5 separate regions of the Homo sapiens genome follow, and regions 1, 2, 3 and 5 are each linked to region 4. Evidence: promoter capture Hi-C in human tissues and cell types (Jung and others, 2019). All regions are on one chromosome and are shown on one strand. The core of a region is centred on a gene start or on the middle of the fragment in contact, and the rest is flanking DNA. Distances in the headings are between cores, read along the strand shown.

Region 1 (4,628 bases), core at 497-2,996, 340 kb before region 4:
ATTTGAGAGGAAGAATTAATGGTAATCCCTAAACACCTTTACTCAATGCTTCCTAGGAATGTGTTAGGGGATTGTGGGAATAAAGAGCTGAAGTAGCATTTGCTGCTGTCCTCAAGTACCTCAAATCCTATAGAAGCACACCTAAAAATAAAATCATAGATGCAGGGAAGGCCACATTTAGCATCACTGCAGCCAGTGTCACTGAGAGATCACTATGCTTGTGAAATCAGCAAATTAAGGCACCATACATTTCCAAGTGCCTCTGTCATTTACCCCAAGTATCTTTTGTAAGTACCTAAATTGTTATTTTGGTTAAAACACACTACAAGCCCGGGCGCGGTGGCTCACACCTGTAATCCCAGCACTTTGGAAGGCTGAGGTGGGCAGATCATGAGGTCAGGAGATCGAGACCATCCTGGCTAACACGGTGAAACCTCGTCTCTACTAAAAAAAAATACGAAAAATTAGCCAGGCGTGATGGTGGGCGCCTGTAGTCTCAGCTACTCGGGAGGCTAAGGCAGGAGAATGGCGTGAACCCGAGAGGCGGAGCTTGCAGTGAGCCAAGATCGCGCCACTGCACTCCAGCCTGGGCGACAGAGCGATCCTCCGTCTCAAACAAACAAACAAACAAAAAAACCCACTACAGTATACATCTACACCCCACCAATTTTTAGAGGCAGGGTAGTGAGGTTCAGACTGGGCCCACCTCTACCACTTGTCAACACGTGATCTTGGGTAAGCTACCAAATTCTCTTAGCCCATGCTATCACGTGAAGATGAATGAGACTGGAATGTCAGCGAGACAGAGCATGATGGGGCTATAGGAGGGGGGTATGGTCAGATCTTGCAGGGCCGTGTGAACTACCATAAAGGTTTTGGACTTTTCTTCTTTCTTTCTTCTTTTCTTTCTTCTTTCCCTTTTCTTTCTTCTTTCTTCTTCTTCTTCTCCTTCTTCTTTCTTCTTCTTCCGCCTCTCCTTCTTCTTCTTTTTCGTTTAGACATGAGGTGTCACTGTCACCCATGCTAGAGTGCAGCATGCAACCTCAAACTGCAACCTCAAACTCCTGGACTCAAGCGATGCTGCTGTCTCAGGCTTCTGAGTAGGTGGGACTACGGGTGTACACCACCACGCCCGGCTTGGATCTAGTATTCTAAGTTCAATGGGTTGTGTTTTTTGTTCCAATTTATTATAACTTTTCAATTGGAACATAATGTCTACAAATAAATGCAAAAATCTTGCCGAGTTCAATTAGTTTGGACAATTATATACGTCAATGTTATACCACCGAAAACAAAATACAGAACATTTCCATCATCTCAGAACAGTCCCAAGTGCCCCTTTCCTGCTAATTCTCCTTGTCTCCGGAACACTTAAGGGTGCTAAGCATGTTATGTTTGCGGTGGGTTTTTTTTTTAACTTAGATGTGGTAATATATGTTTGCGTTTCCAAAGGATCACTCTGGCTGCCGAGCAGAGGACAGCAATGCGGGTAAAGCACAGGCCAGGCGAGGGATAATCAGGCGGGATTGCACGGAGGTCGCCTAGCAACAGAAAGCGCTGTCGGGGGCGGGGGAACCGCTCTGCTCCTGTGAAAGGAGGAGGCCCCGCCCTCTCCTCGCCCTCTCTCTGCCCCACGCTGTGCGCGAGCACACAGGCAGCCCCGCCCCGCCTCGGCGGGGTGGGGGTGGACAGAGGTTTCTTATTGGTGAGTTTTCCGGAAGCGATGGATTCGGAATCTCGCCCGCAGTCGCGCAAGCGCGAGCGGCTGTGCGCGGTGCGTGGTGCGTGGTGCGTGATACGAGCGGCGGCACGTGGCGCGGGTGCGGGGCGTGGAGTGGCGTGGCGTGGAGTGGCGTGGCGTGGCGGGGTCTCGCGGCGCGGGCGCGCACCCGGAGCTGTGGACGGAGAGTGCCTCCCTCTGGCCTCAGTTTCCTCATGTTGTAGTAGCGGAGCATGGCCCGGACCGGGCCCCCGAGACCGCCCCGTGCAACCTCACCGCCAGCCTGGGGGCCTCAGCGACTGGGACGGGACCAAGGGGCTCGGGGATTCTCCCTGCCCCCGGCCCTGGTGCGTGACTGACCCTCCTGTTCCCAGAGCCCCCAGCGCAGGCCGGGATGTTCGTCCTGGTGGAAATGGTGGACACCGTCCGGATCCCCCCTTGGCAGTTTGAGAGGAAGCTCAACGACTCCATTGCCGAGGAGCTGAACAAGAAGTTGGCCAACAAGGTACTGGGCCCACGGCTCGCGGGCAGGCCTTGGCGTGGGAGAGCGAGCGCCGCCCACTGGCCGCAGGCCCGGCCTCGGTCATGCCAAGCCCTGGCCGTGGGCAAGCAGCTTAATGTCTCAGAACTTTTCTTCACCGTGAAAGGAGATATTGAAGGGGATCAAAAGAAAATGGGCTTGAAAAAGGGAGTTGTAACTGGAAGTGTTAGATTCCACAATTCTAAATTACTTTGCAATTGCAGGCAAGTTACTGACCCCTTCTGGGCCTCAGTTTCCATTTTTAAAATGGGGATAAAATATTGCTGTCCTTCCAGCCATGCATTGTTTTTGTTGTTGTTGTTGTTTGTTTTGTTTTGTTTTGTTTTTTGTTTTTGAGACGGAGTCTTGCTCTTTCGTCCAGGCTGGAGTGCAGTGGCGCGATCTCGGCTCACTGCAACCTCCGCCTCCCGGGTTCAAGCGATTCTCCTGCCCCAGCCTCCCGAGTAGCTGGGACAACTACAGGCGCGCGCCACCACCCCCAGCTAATTTTTGTATTTTTCGTAGAGACGGGGTTTCACCATTTTGGCCAGGATGGTCTCGATCTCTTGATCCCCCCGCCTCGGCCTCCCAAAGTGCTGGGATTACAGGTGTGCGCCATCGCCTCGGGTCAATGCATTGTTTTCGTGAAGATGGAGAGTTCTAGTAGTACAGAATTAACTGTCAGGAGGTTCATCCCTTCATTCCAGCAGCCAATATTTGTGCGCCTTCTCTGTGCTGTGCCTGTGTGCCTTAGTACCAGCTGAGAGGTCTTCCCACTGCCGTTTCTTTGACAGTCCTCCCTTTCCAGGTATTCTGTGTCACATCACTCTCTTTCCTTCTTAGACTTTTTCCTTTCCCTCTCCTTGAGAGCAGGGACCTTATCTGCCTTCTTCCCTGAAGTATCCCCTCATTTAGCCAAAGCCTGGCGGGAGTAGATGTCCCATAATTTTCTGTTTTGTGTTTGTGTGTGTGAGACAAGAGTGCCGCTCTTGTCGCCCAGGCTGGGGTGCAATGAAGCGATCTTGGCTCACTGCAACCTCCACCTCCCAGGTTCAAGCTATTCTTCTGCTTCAGCCTCCTGAGTAGCTGGGATTACAGGCACCTGCCACCACACCTGGCTAATTTTTGTACTTTTAGTAGAGACGGGGTTTCACCATGTTGGCCAGGCTGGTCTCAAACTTCTGACCTCAGGTGATCTGCCTGCCTCAGCCTCCCAAAGTGCTGGAATTACAGGTGTGAGCCACCGTGCCCGGCCATTTGTTGACTGAATGAATGAAACAGAGACAAGGCTCTGTGCTATAGTGTGGTGGGAAAGCAGATATGAATGAGAAGGGTCCACAGTTGAGTGTTTGGTGACAAATTGAGGTAAATGTTATGAGGGACAGGTGTTCACACACCTGTGGAACAAAGGAACGTCCCCTGGAATGAGGGGACCTGCAGCTTTGTTGAGGAGGTGGGGTTGAAGGTGAGATCTGATGGTGAAGTGGAGCCAACCAGAGGATTCCTTTCTAGGGTGGGAGGGGGCTGGGTGGAGAGAAGAGCCCTGAAGGCAGGAACTGGCATGTGCAAAGGCCCTGTGAAGAAGGAATACAGGCCGGGCGTGGGGGCTCACACCTGTAATCCCACCACTTTGGGAGGCTGAGGCGGGTGGATCACCCAAGGTCAGGAGTTTGAGACCAGCCTGTCCAACATGGTGAAGCCCCATGTCTACTAAAAATACAAAAAATAGCTGGGCATGGTGGCAGGCACCTGTAATCCCGGCTACTTGGGAGGCAGAGGGAGAAGAATCACTTGAACCCAGGAGGCAGAGGTTGCAGTGAGCTGAAATCGCACCACTGCCTTCCAGCCTGGGTGACAAGAGTGAAACTTCGCTTCAAAAAAAAAAGAAGAAGGGGTAAAATACCCACCATGGTGTGGAAGAGGCTGGTGTGGCTTGGGCAGAGGGGAGGGTGGGCTGGACAGGTGGGTGGGGGCCAGGCCACACAGCCCTGTAGGATGTCGGAGTTGAGGTATTGGTCTTTATCCGTGGAGCATCAGAAGGTGATGGGCTGAGAAGGAGCCAGAAAGAGGATGCTTAGCTGGCTTTACGCATGAGACAGGTCCCTTCAGAAGAGGTGAGGTTGATTTGGGGGTTGCTAGATAGTGAAGGGAACTCATGGAGTCTTTAAGTGGATGGCTTCTGGTTACTTTGTGAGGTTGAAGATGAGGGTCTGTTGGGGGATGGAGGTGTGGACCTTGAGAGAGAAGGTGTGGAAAGTCCAAGAAGGGAATATAGTCCCTTTGGGGTAGAGGTCCTGTTGGGACAAGTCTTCTAGTATTTGATTAGATGAATCGTTTGAGAGGGGGCCCACACAGAAATCCATGGTCTGACAAAGGGCACAGATCTTG
Region 2 (4,288 bases), core at 650-3,149, 450 kb before region 4:
CAGGCGGATGGCTTGAGCTCAGGAGTTCCAGACCAGCCTGGGCAACATGGTGAAACTCCGTCCCTACAAAAAATACAAAAATTAGCCAGGTGTGGTGGTGCAAGGGTATGGTCCCAGCTACTCAGGAGTCTGAGGTGGGAGAATCACCTGAGCCCAGGGAGGTCAAGGCTGCAGTGAACTACAGTAACACCACTGCAATCAAACCTGGGTGACAAGAGACCCTGTCTCAAAATAATAATAATAATAATAATAATAATAATAATAATAATAATAATAAATTTTTAAAAATGACATGTGAAAAAAATTACGTTTAGTGTCCCATTATGCAGGCTCTGAGAGTTGGTCTATTATATATGTGAGAGGGAATGACTTGAATTACTTAATCATTCTTTTAAGCCTTTAACAATTTACACTAGATTTATTTACTTTTGCTCATTGTGGAATAACAAACACAATCAAGGAGAAGGGCGAATAAGAATCCTGCTATTTTTTCAAATTTGTTCAACCAACTAATCTGGCTAAGTACAGCACAACAGAGAAACCACAAAATCCCAGAGTCTCCAACATAATAAAAGGTTCCATTCTCTATATGGCTTTCAAAAAACTATTAATAACAAGTAGTAATCTGTCAGTTTGCTGAAAAGAGTAGTGCCATTCTCTTGGCCTATGCCCAAGCTGTTTCTAATAAGATTTTCAACTCAGGAGGCAGTTCCAGAAAGCCTGAGATTGACTCACCTGTATGTGAAGCGAAGCTTCTCAACGATAGCCTTCATCTTGCCCACCTGCTCTGGAGTTGCCATGATTTTTTCAGTAAAGGGCATCTTCCTTTTATCATCAGCAAAGGGTAAAAAGACCAGCTGGAAGCCTGAAGAAAGGAGATAAATTTTCTTTGATTTGACTTCAAGTGTTGCAGTCACTTGTTTCTCAGCTCCAAATTCTTCCTTTTATGTCCTGTGGTGCTGGGGCTGGGGCCCCGTAGGCCCCATTTCTTGAACTCCACCAGCTGGTTTTTGTTATCATCTGCCTAACAGACTCCCTCTGCAGTTTCCAGAAGACTGCAAGGGAGGAGGGGTGCCCCTTCCTGTATACAGTAGATCCCTTATCCCTGGGGAATATGTTTGAAGAACCCGGGAGGATACCTGAAACCTCGGACAGCACCAAACCTGACTGCCGTCAATTGAAACATGTTTGTCCATGTCATACGTTCATAAATTTAATATTTAATGTTTTTTTCCATCTTTTTTTTTTTTTGAGATGGAGTTTCACTCTTGTCGCCCAGGCTGGAGTACAGTGGGCAATCTCGGCTCGCTGCAACCTCCGCCTCCCAGGTTCAAGCGGTTCTCCTGCCTCAGCCTCCTGAATAGCTGGGATTACAGGCGCCACCACGCCCGGCTAATTTTTGTACTTTCGGTAAAGATGGGGTTTCGCCATGTTGGCCAGGCTGGTCTCAAACTCCTGACCTCAGGGGATCTGCCCACCTCGGCTTCCCAAAGTGCTGGGATTACAGACGTGAGGTACCGCGCCCAGCCTTCATCTTTTTTTTTTTTTTTTTGAGACAGGATCTTGCTATCACCCAGGCTGGAATGCAGTGGTGTGATCACAGCTTACTGTAGCCTCTACCTCTCCGGCTCAAGTAGCCTATCAAGTAGCTGGGACTACAAGTGAATGCCACCACACTTGGCTACTTTTTTTTATTTTTTTGCAGAGACAGAGTTTCACCATGTTGCTCAGGCTGGTCTCAAAACTCCTGGGCTCAGGCGATCCACCTGCCACAGCCTCCCAAAGTGCTAAGATTACAGGCATTAGCCACAGTGCCTGGCCTCCTTTTCTATTTTAACTAAGCACTTCTCATGTACTGTGGCAGTAACTTTTACAGTTTGAGGTGCAACAGGAAAACTAGCTTGGGCCGGACATGGTGGCTCACGTCGGTAAGCACAGCACTTTGGGAGGCTGAAGCAGGAGGATCACTTGAGCTCAGGAGTTCGAGACCAGCCTGGGCAACATAGTGAGACCTTGTCTCAATTTATGTAAAAAAAGAAGGGGGGGAAAAAACTATTTTTTTTTTTTTTGAGACAGAGTCTCGCTCTGTCACCCAGGCTGGAGTGCAGTGGCGCAATCTCAGCTCACTAACTCCACCTCCCGGGTTCACACCATTCTCCTGCCTCAGCCTCCCAAGTAGCTGGGACTACAGGAGCCTGCCACCACACCTGGCTAATTTTGTATTTTTAGTAGAGACGGTTTCACCGTGTTAGCCAGGATGGTCTCAATCTCCTGACATCGTGATCCGCCACCTTGGCATCCCAAAGTGCTGGGATTACAGGCGTGAGCCACCACGCCTGGCCACTAAGATGAATTTCTTTTTCCTTCTTAACAATTTTGTGGATAGAAGATTCCTTCTTACCATGTATCTTAGCAACCTCAGCATAAAAAAAAAAAAAAACTAAAATGAATTTTTTCCCTTAACAATTTTGTGGTTCGAAGATTCCTTCTTACCATATATCTTAGCAACCTTAGCATATATTTTTTTCCTCCTTAAAGTCAAGAACTCTCACCTTTTCATTTAAAGGAAGCACTTTATGACTTTCTCTTTAGTATATCCAAACTGCCAGCACCACTACACTTGTGCTTTGGGGCCGTTATTAAATAAGGGTGACCTGAACACAAGCACCGCAATACTGATTACCTTGACAGTCAATCTGATAACCAAGACAGCTACTAAGTGACTAACTGGTGGGTAGCATTTACAGTGTGGAGATGCTGAACAAACAGATGATTCCTGCCCCAGGTGGGATTGTGCTTTTAAGTTATTTCTAGAATTTTCCACTTAAAATTTTTGGACCATGGTTGACTATGGGTAACTGAAACTGCAGAAAGCAAAACTGTGGTTGCGGCCCTCCTGTATTTACTGTTCCTACCTGTATTGCCCCAGCAAAGACCCTTTACCTGGCGGCAGTTGGTTCCAGTCTCCAGCTTTTTTGATACATCCAGAGCTAGCCGGACAGTGCCTCCTCCCTGGAGGGCTAAGTCCCAGCTCCATGGGGGCCTTCTCTGAGCTTCACCCTCGCCCCTTTTTTCCTTACCCTCTACCACGTGATAAATAAAAGGAAACAGGTAAGAGTTATCAGGCTGATTTTAGTTCAGTTACTGGCTGGTTCTGGAAGGACTAAAAAATCTACGCCCTGTAACTAACTGCTGCTACCAGGTGAAAGCCTTTGCTGACAATGCTGACCACACTGAGCAAACAGGAAGAAGCAAATCCCTCACCTCTCCTCTGCCCTTTGGTCTCCCTCTAGCACCCACTATAGACACAGCCTGAGAGCCAGCTGTGAAAGATGAAATTAGGTTTGGATCATTTCAGCCTCAGTAGTGCAGAGCATAAAAGGGTGAATTTGGAGCTGAGATACAATAGCTTAGTAACTGAGCACTCCTGAGCATGCTGAGGATCAAAGTTAAAACTACAGTAACTCATCTCAAATGTAAAACCACCCCGAGGGAAAGGTGCTCCAGAACGCCCATCTTTGTAGCTAAGGAATATTAAACAGAAAGGTTAAATTACTTGCCCACGTTGACCAGCTAACAAGCAGCAGAGATGGGCCCAAAACAAAAGCAAGCAAGCTTCCAGACACATAAGCACAAGATAAAGTCAAATCTGACTTTAAAATCCATGGTCTTTCCGCTATACCTCACTATCTTGGCAAACCCCATGGTTGGTTTGTATAGGAACTAAACCAAACATTAGACATTACAAGGGTGCCAAACAATGGCTTTGGAAAGAAAGGTGTCGGCAGTGAGGTCCCAAGAACTTGTGTCAGTAATCTGCAAACAGTCCCCTAGGCAGACATTTCTCTATCCTAGCTGCAGATCAGCCTTGTACGGCTGCGCATGCTGTGCACCCCATCACCATATTTAGTGGCCTTACCTGGCTGTGCACTAAATTCACCCAAGAAAGCTTAAAAATAGACATTTTTAAGCCCCATTCCCAGAGACTATGATTCAGTAGGTCTGCATTAGGAGTCCATGGATGATTCCAAAGTATGGGCAAGGTTCAGAAGCCCTGGAAATATCTCTGCCACATACCTGGAGGAGTCACCTGAATTTTCTGGTCATCCAACTCTTCTTCCTGTGGCACCAAAGCCACAAAATAAGGAGGGATGTTCCTGCGGGGTGTGTATCTGCACAATGCTGCAACCTCCTTCTCCAGACACTTGATGAGCAGAGCACTGAACAGGGTTGAGCTCCCTAGAAAACAAAAAGCCCAGTGACTAGCCTCCTAAAAAGGTTTCCTCCT
Region 3 (4,470 bases), core at 764-3,263, 460 kb after region 4:
AAAAAGGTTCAATGAACATTATCTAGGAAATAAAGAATTAAAAAAAATAAGATTACTAGGTAGAAAATAAACATTTAAATTCATAGAAAGGGATTGGAAGATTATATACCAAACTTTTTTTTTCTTTTGAGACAAGGGCTCACTCTGTCGCCCAGGCTGGATTGCAGTGGCACAATCACAGCTATATATGTGTATATAATTTTCTAAGTAAAGAAAGTCCTGAAATTTTAGGTTAAAAGGTGTATTAGGGCCGGGCGCGGTGGCTCATGCCTGTAATTGCAGCATTTTGGGAGGCTGAGGCGGGCAGGTCACTTGAGGTCAGGGGTTCGAGATCAGCCTGGCCAACATGATGAAACCCCATTTGTACTAAAAATACAAAAATTAGCCAGGCATAGTGGCAGGTGCCTGTAATCCCAGCTACTCGGGACGCTGAGGCAGGAGAATCATTTGAACCTGGGAGATGGAGGTTGCAGTGAGCTGTGATGGCACCACTGTGCTCTAGCCCGGGCAACAGAGCAAGACTGTCTCAAAAAAAAAAAAAAAAAAAAAAAAAAGGTATATTAGTCAGGGTTCTCCAGAGAAACAGAACCAACAGGATATTATAAGAGAGATTTATTATAGGAATTGATCGTTTCTCGGCCTTGTGGCTAAGATCAAGTGTAGATTTATTATGGGAATTGGCTCATGCAGTTATGGAGGCCAAGAAGTCCCAGGATCTGCCATCTGCAAGCTGAAAAACCAGGAAAGCTGGTGGTATAATTCAGTCTGAATCTGAAGACTGAGGACCAGAGGCACAATGATGTAAGTCCCAGTCTAAGCCCAAAAGCAAGAGCTAGGAGCACTGACCTCCAAGGGCAAGAGAAAATGGATGTCAGCCCAGAAAGAGCAGATTCGCCCCTCTTCCACCTTTTGTCCACTCAACAGTGGATGATACCCACTGACAGGGAGGATCTTTTTCTAATTTTTTTTTTTTTTTCTGAGACAGAGTCTCACTCTCTCGCCCAGGCTGGAGTGCAGTGGTGCAATCTCCGCTCACTGCAAGCTCTGCCTCCCGGGTTCACGCCGTTCTTCTGCCTCAGCCCCCTGAGTAGCTGGGACTACAGGCACCCGCCACCATGCCCAGCTAATTTTTTGTATTTTTAGTAGAGATGGGGTTTCACCGTGTTAGCCAGGATGGTCTCGATCTCCTGACCTCGCGATCCACCTGGGAGGATCTTTTTCACTCAATCTACCAACTCACAATGCTAATTTGTTCTGGAAACATCATCACAGGACTACCCAGGAACACTGTTTTGCCAGCTATCTGGACATCCCTTAGCTCAGTCAAACTGACACATAAAATTAACCATCACACGACCATCCTTTTTGAACTTGTCATCCATACACATCTCCTTAAACCATACTTAATCTCCACATGAAGACACAAGGTTTTTTTGGGTTTTTTGGAAACCAGATCTTGCTCTGTTGCCCAGGCTGGAGTGCTGCAGCCTCAATCTCCTGGGCTCAGGCGATCTTCCTGCCTCAGCCTCCTGAGTAGCTGGGACTACAGGTGCATACCACCACACCCAGGCTGGAGTGCAGTGGCACGATCTCGGCTCACTGCAACCTCCACCTCCTGAGTTCAAGTGATTCTCATGCCTCAGCCTCCTGAGCAGCTGGGACTACAGGCACACACCACCATTCCTAGCTAATTTTTGTATTTTTTAGTAGAGATGGGGTTTCACCATGTTGGCCAGGCTGGTCTCGAACTCCTGACCTCAAGTGATCCACTTGCCTTAGCCTTGTAAAGTGCTAGGATTACAGGCGTGAGCCCCGTGCCCGGCCAACATTTTTTTTAAGAGACTCTTTTTTACTCACTCTACCGACTCACAGCACTAATTTCTTCTGGAAACACCATCACAGGCCTACCCAGGAACACTGTTTTGCCGGCTATCTGGACATCTCCTTATGTTGCCCAGGCTGGTCTTGAACACCTGGCCTCAAGTGACCCTCCCACCTCAGCCTCCCAAAGCGTTGGGATTACAGGCATGAGCCACTGCACCCTGCCAAGACACAAGGTTTTCATTCCACTGAACGTGTTACAACCATCTGGTGTACAACTGGATTTCTGTCTTAGTCCCTTGGGGCTGCTATAATAAAATATCATAAACTGTTTATCTTATTTACAAGAGAAATTTATTTCTCCCACTTCTGGAAGCTGGGAAATCCAAGATCAAGGTGCCGACAGATTCAGTGTCTGGTGAGGGCCCACTTTCTGGTTCATAGACAGCATCTTTTTGCTGTAATCTCACATGCTGGAAGGAGCAAGGGACCTCTCTTGGGTCTCTTTTATTAAAGGACACTAATCCCATTCATGAGGGTACTGCCTTGGGGAATGCACCACTCTTTCAACTTCAATCAAGTATCTCCTGAGTTTGAGTGCTTGTTTTCGAAAGCGTGGTAGAAGTTTATTTTTCTCCTTGGTCCTCTAGTAGCCAGGTTACAGCTAGGTCATCTTGACTGTACCATCTGCAGAGAGGAAGACTCACCTTCGTTAGGATAGAAGCACCAGTGTCTAACTAGACAAGGACTATGGACTTAGAATGACATCGAATTTCCAGACCAAAACATTTACCAGAGCATTATGGTGTTCAAGGCATTGTGGGGACCCTGAGGGGGTGTATGGAGGACTATGAAGCAATCCCAGCCCCCACAGGAAGCTTGCAATTATTTTGGATGATAGCCATCCATACAAGATTGTGTCTGGGAGTGGTGGCTTACGCCTGTAATCCCAGCACTTTGGAAGGCCAAGGTGGGCAGATCACCTGAAGTCAGGAGTTCGAGACCAGCCTGGCCAACATGGTGAAACCCTGTTTCTACTAAAAACAGAAAAAAATTAGCTGGGCATGGTGGTGGGTGCCTGTAACCTCAGCTACTTGGGAGGGTGAGGCACGAGAATCGCTTGAACCCAGGAGGCAGAGGTTGCAGTGAGCCAAGACCGTGCCATTGCACTCCAGGCTGGGCAATAAGAAAGAAACTCAGTCTGGAAAAAAAAAAAAAGACGTTTGCTTTGTCCCTAAAAATTAGTGTCTATGAATTTTCTTACATTGTTATTTCTTCATGTGTAAATATCCTATCAGTGCAGCTAAATCGTAAGCTCCATGAGAACGCAGACGGTAGCCTGTGTTTCGGTGCGTATTCCTACATGGAAGCTCTGAGTTACGGTTAAAGATGAGACTGATTTATACAGATGATAATGCTCTCGAGTTTAACATTGTCTCTGCAATGATCTATGAGCATATTTGGAAAAGAAATCGCATCAGGGGCCAATGGTTTAAATAGGAGGATTTCTGGGCACTGTCAGGAGGTGTTATAGACAGACCTGGGTCAGTTGCAGAGCGGAGAGGATGTCCTGTGTTCTTCCTTTTCCCTTTCTGGCTCCAAGCAAATGGGCAGAACCAAATGAGGCAGGAAGGCGAAAGGAAAACTTGGATTCCACAGTGAGAGCTGGAGATGTGCTCTGTCAGTGACTAACATGAAACCACCCTCTCTCAGCAGGTTTAGGTCTGACCACGAAAGAAGCCTGGGCTCCCCAGGGTCACATGTGATGGCTGTTAACAGGACAACTGGCTATGCCACTGTGATAATTGTATCATCCACTGAATGGTTAAACTCCTTTGAATACTCTCAGAATTAAAGAGGATATGTGGTGGTGGAAAGTGACAATTGGGGCTGTGTGGAGTCCTCGTGTGTCCCTTTCTTATGCTTCCTTCCAAAGCTGCTACCCATCTGATGCCAAATTCTAGAACCGGCCCTTGTTACAAAAGCATGAACTTCAAACAATTTTCTAGTCTATACTCCTTGCTCCCAGGCAAGTTTTGCCTAAATTACTCCCAATCGTGACATGATTTAAAATTTTTGCCCCCTTTTTTTTTTTTTTTGAAGACAGGGTGTCTACTCTGTCACCCAGGCTGGAGTGCAGTGGCACAATCTCAGCTCACTACAACCTCCACCTCCTGGGCTCAACCAATGCTCCTACCTCAGCCTCCCAAGTATCGGGGACTACAGGCACACACCACCACACCCAGCTAATTTTTGTATTTTTTGTAGAGATGGGGTTTCACCATGTTGTCCAGGCTGGTCTCGAATTCCTGGACTCAAGCGATCTGACTGCCTCGGCCTCCCAAAGTGCTGGGATTACAGGCGTGAGCCACCGCGCCGGGCCTGTATGCCCTCATTTATACAAGTTTCCTCCCTGAAGAAAACTTGGATCAGTTAGATAAATGGATGAAGAAAATACCACCCACAGTTCTCCCACCTCCAAACAACCATTGTTAATATTTAATGTATTCCTCATTTATTTGTCTGTGCACAGTGTATGTCTATAAAACCACGATTGTGATGTATATCATTTAAATCAGTGTAATAAGCACAGTTGCGTCTGTTTGTTATTCTACATCAGAACATATCCAGCTCCCCATGTTATGAAGT
Region 4 (4,588 bases), core at 444-2,943:
TACGAAGATTGAGATAAGATATGTAAAACCTAGTTCTATTTCCAGCAGTCAGTAACAGCTCTAAAAGTGTGACTTGCTATTCTTATTCTCCACATGATTATTCTCGTTTACCCTTGCAGAAAGTTTGAGCTATTCCACCTTATATTTGCAACTACACATGCAAATATGCTAGAAAGGAAGCAATTTTTTTTTTTTTTTGAGACACAGTCTCGCTCTGTCGTCCAGGCTGGAGTGCAGTGGTGCAGTGGCCCGATCTCGGCTCACTGCAAGCTCCGCCTCCCACGTTCACGCCATTCTCCCGCCTCAGCCTCCCGAGTAGCTGGGACTACAGGTGCCTGCCACCACGCCCGGCTAATTTTTTTGTATTTTTAGTAGAGATGGGGTTTCACCATGTTAGCCAGGATGGTCTCGATCTCCTGACCTCGTGATCTGCCCGCCTCGGCCTCCCAAAGTGCTGGGATTACAGGCGTGAGCCACCGCACCCAGCAAGGAAACAATTCAAATATAGGTACCCTTGTCAGGCAGGGTGACAGAGACCACCTATAGTCCCAGCTACTTAGGAGGCTGAGGTGTAAGGATTGCTTGAGCCCAAGAGTTAGAGGCTGCAGTGCGTTGTCATCACGCCTGTGAGTAACCACTGCATTCCAGCCAGGGCAACATAGGAACACCCCGTCTCTTAAATATAAGGTGCCCAGAAACCAAATGATTAAAGGATGAGGCGGGGTGCAGTGGCTCATGCCTGTAATCCCAGCACTTTGGGAGGCCGAGGTGAAGCAGACAGATCACCTGAGGTCAGGAGTTCGAGACCAATCCGACCAACATGGCAAAACCTCGTCTCTACTAAAAATACAAAAATTAGCCGGGTGTGGTGACACATGCCTGTAATCCCAGGAACATGGGAGATGGAGACAGAATTGCTTGAACCCGGGAGACGGAGGTTGCAGTGAGCCGAGATCGCGCCACTGCACTCCAGCCTAGGTGACAGAGCAAGACTCCGTCTGAAAGAAAAAAAAAAAAGGATGAGTGGGTTCCAGGTTGCAGTACAGTGTGAAAAGCATAACAGGCAAAGTTTCAGAGGCGGACAGACTTAGTGCCAATCTCCTTCACTTTCCAGCCGGGGTAACTTCCTGGGGTGTCGCACCACCTCTAAGCCTCAGTGGCTTGAACGACAAAGACGAAAGAATAATACATGATTGCTGTGAGTGTACTGGAAGATAATGCACGTGAACGTTACAGACAAGGAGTGATGTTCACCCAACTTTAATCTCCCTTCACTTCCCACCTCATGTAACAGGCCTCACAAGCCCTAAACAACACAGCCACGAGACAAGCAGGATAAGGAAGATTCAGGAGCTCTCAGATCCTAAACCTAGTTCCCTTTCCCCCAGGCCAGGGACGGCTGTTCCTCCCTGAACTCCTCGCCGAACGTTGGCCCCAGCAGGAGAGGGGCAAAAAGTAACGTCAATTGCCTCTGCCCCTGGCTCAGTTTAACTACCTCAGTTTATCCATCCTCCCACCCTCCACCCTCCAGGCGTCGCTAAAAGCCCTAAAGAAGGGCCCACGGAGCGAGGCTCTCGGAGTTCCCTTTCCCAGTCACGCTAAGTCCTCGCCTTCTCACCTCAATACTCCGGGGCTTCTCCATGAGACCTCAGTTTCGCCAAGCGTCACCAGGTGCAGGAAGCCATATTGGCCTGCCCCGTCGCTCTCCGCGAGAGCACTCATTGGTCGCCTCCCTGAGCCGCGGGCCAATCACGCTGCAGGAAGGAGGAAAAGCCGGTTCCGTGCCTGCTCCCGCCATTCTCTCCCTGTGGGCGGGGAAGCCGCGGGCGGTTATGGGAATTGTAGTTCGCATGTGTGCAGGGTGAGTCGTTACCATAGCGACGTGGAAACCAGGGGCGCTGGAAACCTGGTGCGCCTCACGCCGAGTGTTCCAATTACGCCAACCTCTTGACTTCACTGGATGTTATTCTTCCCTAAACGGTTATTGAGCACCTATGATAGTCACTGTTCCAGACTCCAGGAATAACCTCGTACTCTCCCGGGTTAGATATTTAAGGTGCCCTTTTGCTGGGATGCATAGCAGAGGGACTCATTTCCAACTCAGGCAGAAACTGGACTACTCCAGATTAAAAAGAAAAAAAAAAGGAAGAAACTGGAATACTCTGTGTGTGTGTGTGTGTGTGTGTGTGTGTGTGTGTGTGTGTGTGTGTGTGTTTTCTTGAGACGAAGTCTTGCCCTGTCGCCCAGGCTGGAGTGCCGTGGCGCGATCTCGGTTCACTGCAACCTACGCCTGCCAGGTTCAAGCGATTCTCCTGCCTCAGCCTCCCAAGTAACTGGGACTACAGGCGCCCACCACCAAGCCCGGCTAATTTTTGTATTTTTTAGTAGAGACGGGGTTTCACCAGGCTGGTCTTGAACTCCTGACCTCGGGATCCACCCGCCTCGGCCTCCCAAAGTGCTGGGATTACAGGCGTGAACCACCGCGCCCGGCTGAAACTGGAATATTCTTTTTCTCAATACTGTAAATGTCCAGCCTGCTCAAAATCTTACAACATTCCTCCTTCACCACTCTCTCCTGGGTAAAAACCTCGAATCTGAGGCTCTCTGCCTCATCCCGTTAGGGTTTCCCACAACCTCCTTAGACACCCTGAGTTCTAGGTGCTGTTGTGGAGCTTTGCAAACATCTTTTCAAACCCTTAGACATCCTATCACCGTTTGAAAGAAGAGGAAGTGGTGGCTCTTCACCACTTCAGGTTTAGGCACTTTCCAAGATCACACAGGATTGGGATTCCAAATTTAGTACAGATTCCTTCCCTATGCCATGCCGTGTCCCAGTGAATTAATTGAGACTCTAAATGCAATATGTGGAGGCTGAATACATATAAAATATATGCCTAAATTTGAAGTCCGCCGTGGAGATGTCAAACTCTTCCTAGAGGTCTTTCTTTCCTTCAACCCCTTCCACCCTAAACCCCTGTATCCATGCTGTCAACGTGTTGGTTTTTCTACCTCCAAAATATATCCTGTATTTCCTCCACCACTACCACTCTAATACAAGCCACCGGCCCATTGCAGCAGCCCTTCAACTGGTCACCCTTTCTTTCTTTCTTTTATTGATTGATTGATTGATTGAGATGGAGTCTCCCCTGTCGCCCAGGCTGGAATGCAGTGGGATCTCCACTCACTGCAACCTCCACCTCCTGTGGTCACCCTTTTTAAATCTTCACCTTTAATACACACAGGTGATCTTTAAAACTCATTGACCTGGCCGGGTGCAGTGGATCACGCCTGTAATCCCAGCACTTTGGGAGGCCAAGATGGACAGATCACAAGGTCAGGAGATCGAGACCAGCCTGGCCAAGATGATGAAACCCTATCTCTACTAAAAATACAACTATTAGCTGGGTGTGATGACGGGTGCCTGTAATCCCAGCTACTTGGGAGGCTAAGGCAGGAGAATCGCTTGAACAAGGGAGTCAGAGGTTGCAGTGAGCCGAGATTGCACCACTACACTCCAGCCTGGGCAACAGAGCAAGACTCCATCTCAAAAAATAAAAATAAAAATAAATGTTCTGGAATAAGATAGTGGTGAAAAAAAAAGAAAAAGACAGGTTGGTTCAGCAAGTGCAAAGGCCACATTGGTGGAACAGCAAGTGCAAAGGTCCTGGGGCCAACTCAAGCTTGGTATGCAATAAACAGAAAGACAGAGAGAGTAGATGGATATAGCAAAACATGGAGAGGGTGATACAAGATGAGGTTTGAGAGAAAGCTGAGACCAGGTCATTCAGGGTCTTGTGGAGTGCTTGGATTTTATTCTGTGCAAGGGAACGGCATTAGAGTTTTTTTGTTTGTTTGTTTTTGAGACAGAGTTTCACTCTTGTTGCCCAGGCTTGAGTGCAATGGCGCGATCTCGGCTCATCACAACCTCTGCCTCCCAGGTTCAGGCAATTCTCCTGCCTCAGCCTCCCAAGTAGCTAGGATTACAGGCATGCACCACCACACCTGGCTAATTTTTTTTTTTTTTTTTTGTATTTTTAGTAGAGATGGGGTTTCTCCATGTTGGTCAGGCTGGTCTCGAACTCCCGACCTCAGGTGATTCGCCCACCTGGGCAAATGGTCTTGATCGCCTGACCTCGTGATCCGCCTGCCTTGGCCTCCCAAAGTGCTGGGATCACAGGCCTGAGCCACTGTGCCCAGCTAAAAATTTTTTAAAATTAGCTAAGTGTAGTGGCATGTACCTGTGGTCCCAGATACTCTGGAGGCTGAGGAGGGAGGATTGCTTGAGCCCAGGAGGTTGAGGCTACAGTGAACCATGTTCATGCCACTGCACTCTACCCTGGTGACAGAGAAAAAAAAAAGTTGTCTGGCTGGGCATGGTGGCTCACACCTGTAATCCCAGCACTTTGGGACGCTGAGGCAGGTGGATAACTTGATATCAGGAGTTCTGCCAGACGCGGTGGCTCACGCCTGTAATCCCAGGACTTTGGGAGGCCAAGGTGGGCGGATCACCTGAGGTCAGGAGTTCAAGACCAGCCTGGCCGACATGGTGAAACCCCATCTTTACTAAAAATACAAAAATTAGCCGGGC
Region 5 (4,225 bases), core at 691-3,190, 260 kb before region 4:
AGGCAGAGTTGCAGTCAGCCAAGATTGCGCCATTGCACTCCAGCCTGGGTGACAGAGCAAGACTGTCTCAAAAAAAAAAAAAAAAAAAAAAAAAAAAAAAAAAGATGTAAAGAGATAATTAGGTGCAAATCCTTTCCCTTAGCCCGGAATTGAGATCAGAAATATTTTCTTTCAGATAAATGATGATTTTACTTTAAACCATATGGTTTCAATTTAAGCAATGTGATGAAAAATAAGTTCAAGTTTAAATTTAAGCAATGTGATGAAAAATAAGTTCAAGTACCACAAGCTTCCTGAGAGTACAACGCATAACAACTCGTAAAATTCTATTATCAAAGTTGCGCCACTTGATCCAAAAGGAATTCACAAAGTTAAATGTGAAAGGTTGACAGAGAATGTCTACAGATGCTTGCTTGATTTTTATTAACAAAGTACACATTTGACATTGAACCTCTGAGTATAACACCTTCCCAGGGCTGTCAAGTTAGAAGTGAAAAAATCATCTGGCAGTCAGTCAGCTTTCTAGATAGCTCCTAACAGGGGAGTCAAGGTCAAACTGGAGTCTCCTTATCCTCCCATATTTGACAAGCAACTTATTGTGAGGCTCAAAATATTCGTACTGCATTCTGACAAACAGAAATAATTGCACCGTGGTTCATAAAGTTCTGTGAGGGCAGGCTGACATAAACAAGAACTGAGTGGTGGTAGGGCCCATGCTTCTGCCACAGCACTTCGGTGACACTCTTGAGAATCAGAACTTTCACCTACTTTCTACCAGCTTTATCATCTATCAAATGAGAAAAACCACCTCATTCCTACGATTACAGGAATCAAATAATATTATGAAGAATTAAAACAGGCCTCAAATCTTGTGCAAAGGTGAGAGACTATTATTATATTATTTACTACGTATGGGCCCAGAAGACCGCCCCCCTCCCCGACATTCCACGTTCCGCAGGGTCCTCAAAAGGTGGTACAGGGTCCTAGTTTCTTCTCCAGACTCCAGGCCTGGCAACCGTAGATGCTGTCATGCCTCTGTTGCTAAGAGATGGGAAGTGAGGCCTCAGGAACTGGGCCTAGAAGACTCAACAACGACCGCGCCCCCTAGTCACCTTGTCCTCACCTTGAGGAATGGAAACACACCCCACGGGAGCAGGCAATGCTGTCCTCAAAAAGAAGAAAGAGGTGCCTCCGCTCTTCACCCGGCCGCCGCTGCTTGGGCCCACGCTTCTTGCGAGGCAGGGACAGGGCCAGGAAAGCTGACTGTGCCGGGGACGCCTTGACCTAGGGCACCAGAGAAGCGGGCACGGGTGCCGGGCCCACAACCGGGACAGGTACACGAGAAGTTGGCCCCAGGTTGGGCCCGCCTCGCCCTGCCTCGCCCACAGCCGCCGGCACAGTAGGAGGCACCCCGCCCCCGTGAACCCAGAGGTCCCTGAGCTCGCTCACCTGCAGCCGAGTCACCAGTAGGCTGTAGGGCGCCATTTTGTGCACTGACAAAGATGAGGTCGCATTAAAGTGACGTCCCACACGGCGCCTTTAAAGCCTTTGGGCAGGGGCGTGCCCGGAAGAGTGGGGCGTCACGGTGAAGGCGAGGCCTCCCTAGAGGCGCCAGAACCCTGTGAACGCAATGGGCGGAGCTCACGTGCAACGAACAGACACGCAAGAGGAAATCGGACTGCCCAAAGACACTTGCAGAAATAGATACCAAGCACAAAGATGTTTTACCCAAGAACAAATTTTAGTTATCTCCGCCATCCAAATCTGGGAGAGTTTTTAAGAGTTTCATGCACCTGCCAGGACCTGGCCGCCCAGCAGCGACAAAAACTCGCGCGAGAGCAAGACGGGCCTGGTGCAAGGATTGTAAACTGACGGAAGCTTAGAGAACCAATCACAGCGACGTGGAGGCAGGAACAATGGGGGTTAAAGGTCGGACGGAAGTTCCCGAAGCTTCCGGTGGCCGGCTTAGTTAGGAGCTATGGCTAAACATCATCCTGATTTGATCTTTTGCCGCAAGCAGGCTGGTGTTGGTGAGACTGCGCCCTACCCCTGGCTGTCTGGGCAGGGGTGGTATTAGGAGCTGGGGGGTCGGGGGTTCCCGTCTCTTCCTTAGGGGCTTGCCTCGCAGGCGCCACGTTTCCCGCCTCTCAGGCGCGGGGTGTTGTAGGAGCGCGCAGGTTTGTGGCCTCTGATGAGAAGAGGGCGGGGGTGCGCGTGCTGGGAGCCCCAGGCAGGTATCGGGGGGTGGGGTCTGAACCAGGTCCAGAGAAACTCTGAGCTTGCCCAGGGCGTTGGAGGAGATTCAGGAGGGTGCTTGGATGTAGGTTTGGTTCATATGGAAATTTGTAATGATAAAATGGCTATCCGCAGGTCTCACTCACTGCAGTCCTTACTCATGTCCCTACCCCCAGCTCGAGGATGTACTTCTCCTCTTTCTCAAAACCTTTATTCTAATTGTACTTTTTACCATCTTTCATCTTGCAGCCATCGGAAGACTGTGTGAAAAATGTGAGTGGAACACACCGTCCCAACAACCCACCCTTCCCACTCCCAGTTTTCTGTGGAACCAGCAAAAGTGCCACAAAGAGGGCTTTGAGTAGATGTGCCTGGAAGTATGTGAACACTGAATGCTGCACTTTAGCCAAAGGCCCCTCTAACTCCCCACTGCCGCTTGCACATTTAACGCTGTATCTCTCTAGTTTTCAACGGGAAGAATCGCCAGAGTAGCATGACCCCTCCCCAACACACAGCACTTTGCCAGCAATTATACAGGCTTATCATCTCCGAGGTGCTTTTCTAAGCTCTTCACATATGTTAATTGGTAAACTTTTGTATGTGTTGAGGGGCTTGAGATGGACACTGGGGAAACCAAGTTTTGTGATGCCAAGAGGAGGGCCCTAAAGTCACTGTCAAAAGGAGACTAGTGTATTTCCCAGGAGACTAGTATATTTCCCCATGGCAGGAGATAGCAGAGGACTGAAGAACTTGTGAGCATGACTCCATTCTCTTCCTTACAGGTGATGGCAAGTGTGTGATTTGTGACTCCTATGTGCGTCCCTGCACTCTGGTGCGCATATGTGATGAGTGTAACTATGGATCTTACCAGGGGCGCTGTGTGATCTGTGGAGGACCTGGGGTCTCTGATGCCTATTATTGTAAGGAGTGCACCATCCAGGAGAAGGACGTAAGTGTACAGCTTTCCATCTGACCTTTCCTCCTTTTGTTTAGTAACACTTTGCCATCCACTGCAATCTCCTATGGTCTATGGAGATTACTGTGTTCATCTAGTCATCTAGGTTATAATTTCTTCAAGTTCTGTGAGTCAAACTGGGTGTAGTCCAATAAAAGGCAGTTATTTTGCATCAAGGGGAAGAATGCAAGGGAAGCAAATCTTTGTCAAGACCAGCAATTTGGAGAGCCCTCTCATTCATGTCTCTGTGGTTATTCTTATTCAGAAATGACATCCGGCTGGGCGTGGTGGCCCACACCTGTAATCTCAGCACTTTGGGAGTCCAAGTTAGGAGGATCACTTTAGTCCAGGAGTTAAAGACCAGCCTGGGCCACAGAGCAAGATCCCATCTCAAAAAAAAAAAAAGTGTTTTGTTTTTTGTTTTTTGCTTCTTGTTTTTTGTTTTTTTGAGATGGGGTCTCTTGCTCTGTGGCCCAGGCTGGGGTGCAGTGGCATGATCATGTGCAAGGCTCACTGCAGCCTTGACCCCCTGGGCTCAAACGATCCTCCCATCTCATCCTCCCAAGTAGCTGGGACTACAGGCATGCGCCACCATACCTGGCTAAATTTTTTTTGTAGAGACAGGGTCTTGTTTTGTTACCTAGGTTGGTCTCGAACTCCTGGGCTCAAGTGATCCTCCTGCCTTAGCCTCACCAAGTGCTGGGATTACAGGCATGAACCATCACGCCTGGCCAAAAAAACATATTTTTCATTAGTCAGGTGTGCTGGTGTGTACCTGTGGTCGCAGCTACTTGGGAAACTGAGGCGGATGGATCACTTGGGACCAAGAGGTCAAGGCTGCAGTGAGCCATTTTCACGCCACTGCACTCCAGCCTGGGTGACAGAGACCCTGTCTGTTTATAAGTCCTGTACAGCCCATGTTGTGTCATAGCCACTTAAATCTATCATTAAGCACTATTTGGGTGTATATCGTGACAAAGTTGAATTTGGGACAATTCAAGTTGACTTCAGCTTTAAGCAGGTAACAGATGCCTT

The links. Contacts are between HindIII fragments. The study calls those that stand out against the background at their distance.
Region 1: the fragment with the promoter of POLR3H here is called in contact with the fragment with the promoter of L3MBTL2 in region 4 in 1 of the 25 tissues and cell types used here (heart right ventricle).
Region 2: a fragment that was not itself captured here is called in contact with the fragment with the promoter of L3MBTL2 in region 4 in 1 of the 25 tissues and cell types used here (pancreas).
Region 3: a contact is called between a fragment that was not itself captured here and the fragment with the promoter of L3MBTL2 in region 4, in 1 of the 25 tissues and cell types used here (heart left ventricle).
Region 5: the fragment with the promoter of PHF5A here is called in contact with the fragment with the promoter of L3MBTL2 in region 4 in 1 of the 25 tissues and cell types used here (hippocampus).

The regions. Positions count from the first base shown.
Region 1 is chr22:41,541,588-41,546,215 of GRCh38, reverse strand. It overlaps POLR3H (RNA polymerase III subunit H), which reads left to right and starts at 1,746. Exons shown (of 6, transcript NM_001018050.4): 1 at 1,746-2,225. The coding sequence starts at 2,115. RefSeq lists silencers at 1,556-1,655, 1,846-1,975 and enhancers at 2,026-2,115, 2,126-2,225, 1,548-2,385. The HindIII fragment of the contact is 26,348 bases long and covers 1-4,628 here.
Region 2 is chr22:41,653,480-41,657,767 of GRCh38, reverse strand. XRCC6 (X-ray repair cross complementing 6) reads right to left here. Exons shown (of 13, transcript NM_001469.5): 9 at 4,078-4,239; 10 at 736-865. Among named protein-coding and RNA genes, the nearest start is that of SNU13, 33 kb to the left of the region's middle. The HindIII fragment of the contact is 3,766 bases long and covers 17-3,782 here.
Region 3 is chr22:40,738,948-40,743,417 of GRCh38, reverse strand. No RefSeq gene overlaps it. Among named protein-coding and RNA genes, the nearest start is that of MCHR1, 62 kb to the right of the region's middle. The HindIII fragment of the contact is 6,483 bases long and covers 1-4,470 here.
Region 4 is chr22:41,202,417-41,207,004 of GRCh38, reverse strand. L3MBTL2 (L3MBTL histone methyl-lysine binding protein 2) reads right to left here and starts at 1,693. Exons shown (of 17, transcript NM_031488.5): 1 at 1,619-1,693. The coding sequence starts at 1,642. RefSeq lists an enhancer at 349-849. The HindIII fragment of the contact is 28,306 bases long and covers 1-1,831 here.
Region 5 is chr22:41,466,407-41,470,631 of GRCh38, reverse strand. PHF5A (PHD finger protein 5A) reads left to right here and starts at 1,940. Exons shown (of 4, transcript NM_032758.4): 1 at 1,940-2,030; 2 at 2,485-2,508; 3 at 3,018-3,184. The coding sequence starts at 1,979. It overlaps ACO2 (aconitase 2), which reads right to left and starts at 1,515. Exons shown (of 18, transcript NM_001098.3): 1 at 1,450-1,515. The coding sequence starts at 1,485. RefSeq lists enhancers at 848-1,409, 1,410-1,971, 1,541-2,210. The HindIII fragment of the contact is 2,873 bases long and covers 1,085-3,957 here.